2 separate regions of the Homo sapiens genome follow, and region 1 is linked to region 2. Evidence: promoter capture Hi-C in human tissues and cell types (Jung and others, 2019). All regions are on one chromosome and are shown on one strand. Each heading gives the region's core, a stretch centred on a gene start or on the middle of the fragment in contact. The rest is flanking DNA. Distances are from core to core; before and after follow the strand shown.

Region 1 (3,941 bases), core at 186-2,685, 390 kb after region 2:
TGTCCCACAGTGCTGGCCAGGGACAGGTGCAGAGTTGTGCTTGGTTGGCATGGGATGCTGATGAAGGCTGTGTTGCGGCCAGGCCCAACCACCATGAGCCGAGATCATGCCACGGCACTCCAGCCTGGAAGACAGAGTGAGACTCTGCCTCAAAAAAATAAAAAAAATAAAAAGTTATAAATAGAACTACCCTATGATTCAGCAATCACACACTTCTGGGTATATATCCAAAAGAGCTGGCTGGGCACAGTGGCTTATGCCTGTAATCCCAATATTTTGAGAGGCCAAGGCAGGAGGATCACTGGAGCCCAGGAGTTGGAGAACAGCTTGGGCAAGATGGCAAGACCCCTTGGCTACAAACAATTAATTTTAAACCCTGGTATGGTGTCCTAGCTACTTGGGAGACTGACGCGGGGGGATCGCTTGAGCCCAGGAATTAGAGACTGCAGTGAGCTATGATGGCATCATTGCACTCCTGCCTAGTTGACAAAGTAAGACCCTGACTCTTTTTTTTTGTTTTTTGGCTGTGAGTGTATTCAATGCAAAATAATCCTCTCTAATTTTACTGAGGTGGCTGGCCATGTCCACGACCAAATCTGCCTCTAAACTGGAATTCGGTTGCTGACCCAGCCCGAGCCTTGGCTTTCTTGTCGGCACCAGGGGCACAGCACTCCGTCTATAGGTATGTCTGTTGGCTTCCCCTCTTGTGAGTCTTGCAGGTCGCCCACCCTCCAGACCTTTAGGCCGAGGCCTGCCAGTCCCTGGACGGCTGCAGCGTAGGGTGGCAGGCACAGTTTCCAGGGACAGATGAAGGTAATCACGGAGATACTGGATACCCTGATCGGTAAGGTAGCAGTAGAAATGTCTCCAGGCAAGCCAGGCACGGTGGCTCATGCCTGTAATCCTAACATTTTGGGAGGCCGAGGTGGGCGGATCACGAGGTCAGGAGATTGAGACCATCCTGTCTAACATGGTGAAACCCCGTCTCTACTAAAAATACAAAAAATTGGCCGAGCGTGGTGGCGGGTGCCTATAGTCCCAGCTACTGGGGAGGCTGAGGCAGGAGAATGGCATGAACCCAGGAGTTCAAGCTGGTCTTGAACTCCAGGAGGCGGAGCTTGCAGTGAGCCGAGATCACACCACTGCACTCCAGCCTGGGTGACACAGCGAGACTCCGTCTCAGAAAAAAAAAAAAAAAAAAAAAGCAACAATGCAGGGACTCCTGACACATGCTCCAATGTGGATAAACCTGAAGGACATTATGCCCAGTGAAATAAGCCAGACACAAAAGACAAAAACCACAGGATCCCACCCACATCAGGTCCCCAGAGTCCTCAGATTCAGAGAGATGGAAGCAGAATGGTGGGTGCCAGGCCTGGGGGAGGAAGCTGGACATAGTGTTTAGTGGGGTCAGGACAGAATTTGAGTTTGGGATGATGGAAAAGTTCTGGAGACGGATGGTGGAGATGGTTGCACCACAATGTGACTGCATTTAACGCCATGAAACTTTACACTTAAAAATTGTTAAGATGGGCTGGGCATGGTGGCTCATGCCTCTCATCCCAGCACTGTGGGAGGCTGAGGCAGGTGAATCACCTGAGATTGGGAGTTCAAAACCAGCCTGACCAACATGAAGAAACCCCGTCTCTACTAAAAATACAAAATCAGCAGGTGTGGTGGCGGGTGCCTGTAATCCCAGCTACTCAGGAGGTTGAGGCAGGAGAATCACTTGAGCCTGGGAGGCGAAGGGTTGCAGTGAGCCAAGATCGCACCATTGCACCCCAGCCTGGGCAACAAGAGCAAAACTGCATCTCAAAAAAAAAAAAAAAGGTTAAGATGGTAAATTTTATGTTATGTATATTTTATCACAATAAAAAGTAATATTTTTTGCAGCCAAGGTATGCTAAAAGAAATGGCGTTTTTATTATTTATTAATTATTATTATTATTATTATTATTTGAGACAGAGTCTCACTCTGTTGCCCAGGCTGGAGTGCAGTGGCGTGATCTCAGCTCACTGCAACCTCTGCCTCCTGGGCTCAAGAAATTCTCTTGCCTCAGCCTCCTGAGTAGCTGGGACTACAGGCGCCCACCACCACATCTGGATAATTTTTGTATTTTTAGTAGAGACAGGGTTTCATCATGTTGACCAGGCTGGTCTCGAACTCCTGACCTCAAGTGATCCACCCGCCTCGGCCTCCCAAAGTGCTGAGATTACAGGGGTGAGCTACTGCGCCCCAAGAAATGACTTCAAAAGGAAAAATGTAAGCACCAACATAAGCTGGTGTAATGTAATGTAATTCCCACCAATGTAAGTTGGCAGGAATCCTTGCTCTGTATAGAAGGGTCACATTTTCTTATCACTGCTTCCAAGTGTGACAGCAGTGGCCTCATGGCCTTATCTCGGGGAAAGCACTTCCTTCCAAGCACCATGAAGGCCTCCCGTGCTGAGACAAGATGGAAGCTCCTAGTCCCGCCTGAGGACTGACACGGCCTTGGCTTCTCGGTCTCTCAGGACGCGCGGGCGGCCATGCGCCCCTTCGACCCCTCCGCTCTGCTGCCCACCTGCTGGGATTACTGGACCTATGTGGGCTCGCTCACCACCCCGCCGCTGACCGAGTCGGTCACCTGGATCATCCAGAAGGAGCCCGTTGAAGTGGCCCCAAGCCAAGTGAGCCGTGCCCGTAACTGGCATGATGGCGCTTCATGGAAGGCGTCTCTCTTGCTTGGCAGCGTCACTAAGATGCTGCATAAGAGCCTTGAGGAGTTATATATATTCTTTCATGCATTTGGGGTGTTCTTACACAAGAAGAAAGTTCCAATTGAAGTAGGAGCTTGTTGAGATTGGACAGCGGTTCCAGTGATCACAGCGAGCATGTTCTGAGCAATGCCCTAATCTATCACACACAGACACACAAGGCATCCATGGGAGTTGTCCCAGCGTCATGGGTCTGCATGGTTTTTGTTTTCTTCCTTTTTCTTTTCTTTCTTTTTTTTTTTTTTGAGACAGAGTCTCGCTCTGTCGCCCAGGCTGCAGTGCAGTGGCTCGATCTCAGCTCACTACTACCTCCACCTCCTGGGTTCAAGCAATTCTCCTGCCTCAGCCTCTCGAGTAGCTGGGATTACAGGCACCCATCACCACGCCTGGCTAATTTTTGTATTTTTAGTAGAGACGGGATTTCACCATGTTGGCCAAGCTGGTCTTGAACTCAGGTGATCTGCCCACCTTGGCCTCCCAAAGTGCTGGGATTCCAGGCATGAGCCACCGAGCCCGGCCTCCTTTTTCTTATCTAAATAGTTTCATTGCTTTTTTTTTTCGAAAATTAGTTAATAATCCTTGTATACATTTTTAAAAGTTATACTATTGGGCTGGGCGTCATGGCTCATGCCTATAATTTTAGCACTTTAGAAGGCTGAGACAGGCAGATCACTTGAGGCCAGGAGTTCGAGACCAGCCTGACCAACATGGTGAAACCCCGTCTCTACTAAATCTACAAAATTAGCCAGGCGTGGTGGTGCACGCCTGTAATATCAGCTACTTGGGAAGCTGGGGCAAGAGAATAACTTGAAGCCGGGAGGTGGAGGCTGCAGTGAGCCGAGATCGCACCACTGCACTCCAGCCTGGACAACAAGAGCAAAACTCCATCTCAAATAAATAAATAAATAAAAATACAAAAATTAGCCGGGCATGGTGGCGTGTGCCTGTAGTGCCAGCTACTTGGGAGGCTGAGGTAGGAGAATCACTTGAACCTGGAAGGCGGAGGTTGCAGTGAGCTGAGATGGCACCACTGCACTCCAACCTGGGCGACAGAGTGAGACTGTCTCAAAAAAATAAAATAAAAAATAAATAAAAGTTATACTATCATTTTTTTCTGGAAATCTTAAGAATCTATAGCAATTCTGTCTGTCCAAGGCAGTTCAGAGCCACAGGCATGCTGCCTA
Region 2 (3,637 bases), core at 355-2,854:
CTCTCGCCGCAGTCCCTGGAGTAGCTAGGATTACAGGCACCCGCCACCACTCTCGGCCCCATTTCTCTTATTTAAAAAAAAAAAAATTGCCGTGAAATACGCATATCGAAATGTACCATCTTCACCATTTTTAAGGGTAAGATTAGGTGGTGTTAGGTATGTTCAGTTGTCGTGCAACCAGATTGCTGTTTTAAATAACAGCACTTAGAGATGCCGACTTCGTGCCAGGCCCAGTTTGGGACATTAGGGACTCCCAGATGAATCAGCCGCTCCAGTGGAACTCCCTGCTGGTGGGGGAGGCACTGGCGAAGCGGTGCTGAGCCGAGTCCTGACGGCGCTGGAGCTGAGGGGCAGTGCGGGATGCCCCAGGAAGGCTCCTAGGAAGAGGGGACCCACGGTGACTTCCTAAGGAAGCGCGGTTCCCAGGTAGAGGAGCGCATGTGAGCCAAGATCCCTAGGCCTGAGCCGTCTAGGTGTGTCCCAGGAACTGCAGGAAACGGTTGGGTGAGTCAGTGGTGGGCAGCGAGGGTGATAAGCCCCTTCGTGTCTTCGGGATGGTAAGTTTGGGGCACAGGTGAGTGAAGACCGAAGGCCAGGGGTGGACTGACACTCCGTGGCAGGCGCAGGGCCGGGCAGGGGGGCGGCTTGGGGGTGGCAAGGTTTGGGTGAGAAATGGCAGCCCATGGGGAACTACCGCAGGGCTCTGAGACCTTCAGAGCCAAGCCCCGACGCCCCTTCCCACCTGCGGGGCAGAACTGGGGATGGCAGGGGGGAGGGTGGTTCCCAAAGGAGATACCATCCCTGGTAAGGGGACATGGGCCCCTGGGAGTTGGGTTGGGCCACAAGGAGAGAGGCCTGAACGGCCAAAGGGAGGGGGCGTGGGGGAAGCCGCAGCATCAGACCTCTGCCTCCTCCCTCAGATCGTGAGGCTCCCCAGCCTGGCTCGGGAGACCCCGAGATCCCCGGCCGGTGACAGCAGGCGACCCCCTGCTCCTGTCAACCTGTGGGTCCCTACGGACGTGGGGAAGGGAGGAGGGAGGCCCCAGCTCCCTGCGGGGGAGGGGCGTGAAGACGCGCGGGGGTGGGGGGAGATGAGCCGGCGTCGCCATGACAACGAGGCCGGTGGTCCGGCCTTGGGGACCCGGGAGGGAGGGAGGCGCCGTGGCCGCGCGCGCGGGCGGGGGCGGGGGGCCAGGTCTCCCAGGAGTAGTTGGGGAACACCCGGCGATTCTGGCGGCTGCTTCCTGGTGGCGCAGGGAGCCCGCGTGTTTGCGAGTGCGTGTGTGTGCGAAGTTCTCCGGGTAAGTGTGCCAGCGCGCGCCTGGGTGTGTGCAAGGGTGTGAGCGTGCACACGTGGGCACGGGCGTGTGCGCGCGGGGGTGCCCGGTTGGATGTGTGCACACGAGTGTGTGCCGGTCCGCGTGCCCCTGCGTGAGTGTGCGCGCGCGAGCACACGTGTGTGTGCGCGCTCGCGTGCGCTCCCGAGCGGGCCCCGGGTGGGAGTCCGAGATCCCGCCCCCTCCCCAGCCCCAGCGCCCCTCCCCGTCCCCCGCCGCCGCGCCGGCTGCATCCTCGCCTCCACCTCGCTCACCCCCTCCTCCCCGCACTTTCTCGGCGCTCCCTCCCTCTCGGCTCGCACAGCTCGACTCCGCGCTCTCCTCGCCGGCCGCCGCCGCCCAGCCTGCGCCCGCCGTCCCCCCAGTGCCTGGGCACCTGTTGGAGGCAGAGGCAGGTGCAGGGGGCTGGGCAGGCCGGGGGCGTGAGGGTGCGGGGAAGCGTGCCAGCCTGTGTGCGCTACGGGGGTGTTCGGCTCTCCTGCGGCTGCAATTTCTGGCTCCCCTGAGGAGCCAGAGGTGGCATCTGAGGCTGGGGTCTCCACCGTGGGCTGTGGTGAGCGAGCGGGGGAACCAGGCAGGCAGACAGGTCCTGGGGCTGAATGAGGGGACAGTGGGCAGTTGGAGCCTAGAGGGGTGGGTGACACCCTGACTAGACCAGCGCCTGGTGCAGAGGAGGACAGAGCCTCCGAGAAACAGAGGCGGGGCCCTGCAGGGCCCCTTGGGGGACAGGCAGGCTCAGGAGCAGAGGGGAGCCCCGGAGGAGAGGAAGGAGCTGGCAAGATGATACAGGGACAACCTAGAAGTGGGTGGGTGAGGACGGGGTGGTGCAACCTCGACTTCTGCAAGGAGTGGGTTGGCAGCCCAGCCCCTGTGGAGTCAGCTTGGGGTCTGCAGGGCCCAGGCCTCCCACCTGCCACCGGCTGGCACACACCACCCTCTCCCTCGACACCTAGGAAGGGAGGCCAGTGAGGGCCCCACAGACCGAGGAGGCCGTCGCCTGGCCCTCAGCCAGGATGGCTAGGTATGATGGGCTCACTGGCTCACACGCCCTCTCCTAGCCAGGGGTGCTGCATGAGGGGCCGCAGGGGCGATCGCATGACCATCAACATCCAGGAGCACATGGCCATCAACGTGTGCCCCGGGCCCATCCGGCCCATCCGCCAGATCTCTGACTACTTCCCCCGGGGACCAGGACCTGAAGGGGGCGGCGGGGGCGGCGGGGAGGCCCCCGCCCATCTGGTCCCCCTGGCTCTGGCCCCCCCTGCAGCCCTCCTTGGGGCCACCACGCCTGAGGATGGTGCGGAGGTGGACAGCTATGACTCGGATGATGCCAGTGAGTCTGGGGGCTTGGAGGCCCCATGTGCTGGTGGGGGTCTCCAGGCTTGCCGTGGTGGGGGGAGAGGGGGATGGGCCCTGCTGGCTGTGCATGTAGGTAGGGGAGGAGGGCAGTGGGGGGGTGGCAGGGACGGCCACCACAGCTGCAGTCAGCGTGGAGATTACAGCTTCAGCAAGGCTCAATATTCAGTATTTCTGCTGAGACACTCCACCACCCACACAGCCCCAGTTGCGGCCGAGCCAGGGACCCAGACGCACACACGCATGGGCCCACTCAGCCTCTTGCACTCACACTCGCGGGCTGGCAAGAGAGAGAGACACACAGAGCCAGTGCCCACCTGCTGGCCTCTCGCACACACCTGTCTCCATACCGACCCATGCTGCCTTTCCTCTCTCTCCAGCCGCCCTAGGCACGCTGGAGTTTGACCTTCTCTACGACCGGGCCTCCTGCACTCTGCACTGTAGCATCCTCAGGGCCAAGGTGGGCACTCCCTGCCACCCAAGCCCGGGCCCGGTTTGCGTGCAGCCCCCAGAGGGGGCCCATTCCTCCTTCCCTTCCCAGGCCTGCTCCTTCGTCCTGCCCTTGCCCCCTCCTTCTGGGCTCCTCCAGGGTCCAGCTCTACAAGAGGGATGGAGAGAGGTGCCGGGAGCCTCTAGCCCTCTCCCCTGCCCTCCTCTCCAGGGCCTCAAGCCCATGGATTTCAATGGCCTCGCCGACCCCTACGTCAAGCTGCACTTGCTGCCTGGAGCCTGTAAGGTAACAGCCTCCTCTCGCCCCGCCCGGCCCAGCCCATGACTCCAGCCTGTGGGGCTGGAGGACAGGTATTGAGAACCTTTCATCCCCACATCCCAGGCCAATAAGCTAAAAACGAAGACTCAGAGGAACACACTGAATCCCGTGTGGAATGAGGACCTGACTTACAGCGGGATCACAGATGACGACATCACGCACAAGGTGCTCAGGT

What was found. The method cuts DNA at HindIII sites, captures the fragments that hold promoters and counts their contacts. A contact is called where the count stands out against the background at its distance.
Region 1: a fragment that was not itself captured here is called in contact with the fragment with the promoter of DOC2A in region 2 in 1 of the 25 tissues and cell types used here (dorsolateral prefrontal cortex).

What each region holds. Positions count from the first base shown.
Region 1 is chr16:29,621,447-29,625,387 of GRCh38, reverse strand. It overlaps the pseudogene CA5AP1. Among named protein-coding and RNA genes, the nearest start is that of MIR3680-2, 24 kb to the right of the region's middle. The HindIII fragment of the contact is 6,603 bases long and covers 1-3,941 here.
Region 2 is chr16:30,008,994-30,012,630 of GRCh38, reverse strand. It overlaps DOC2A (double C2 domain alpha), which reads left to right and starts at 1,604. Exons shown (of 11, transcript NM_003586.3): 1 at 1,604-1,728; 2 at 2,396-2,670; 3 at 3,074-3,153; 4 at 3,355-3,429; 5 at 3,526-3,635. The coding sequence starts at 2,409. RefSeq lists a silencer at 1,638-1,697. The HindIII fragment of the contact is 30,604 bases long and covers 1-1,764 here.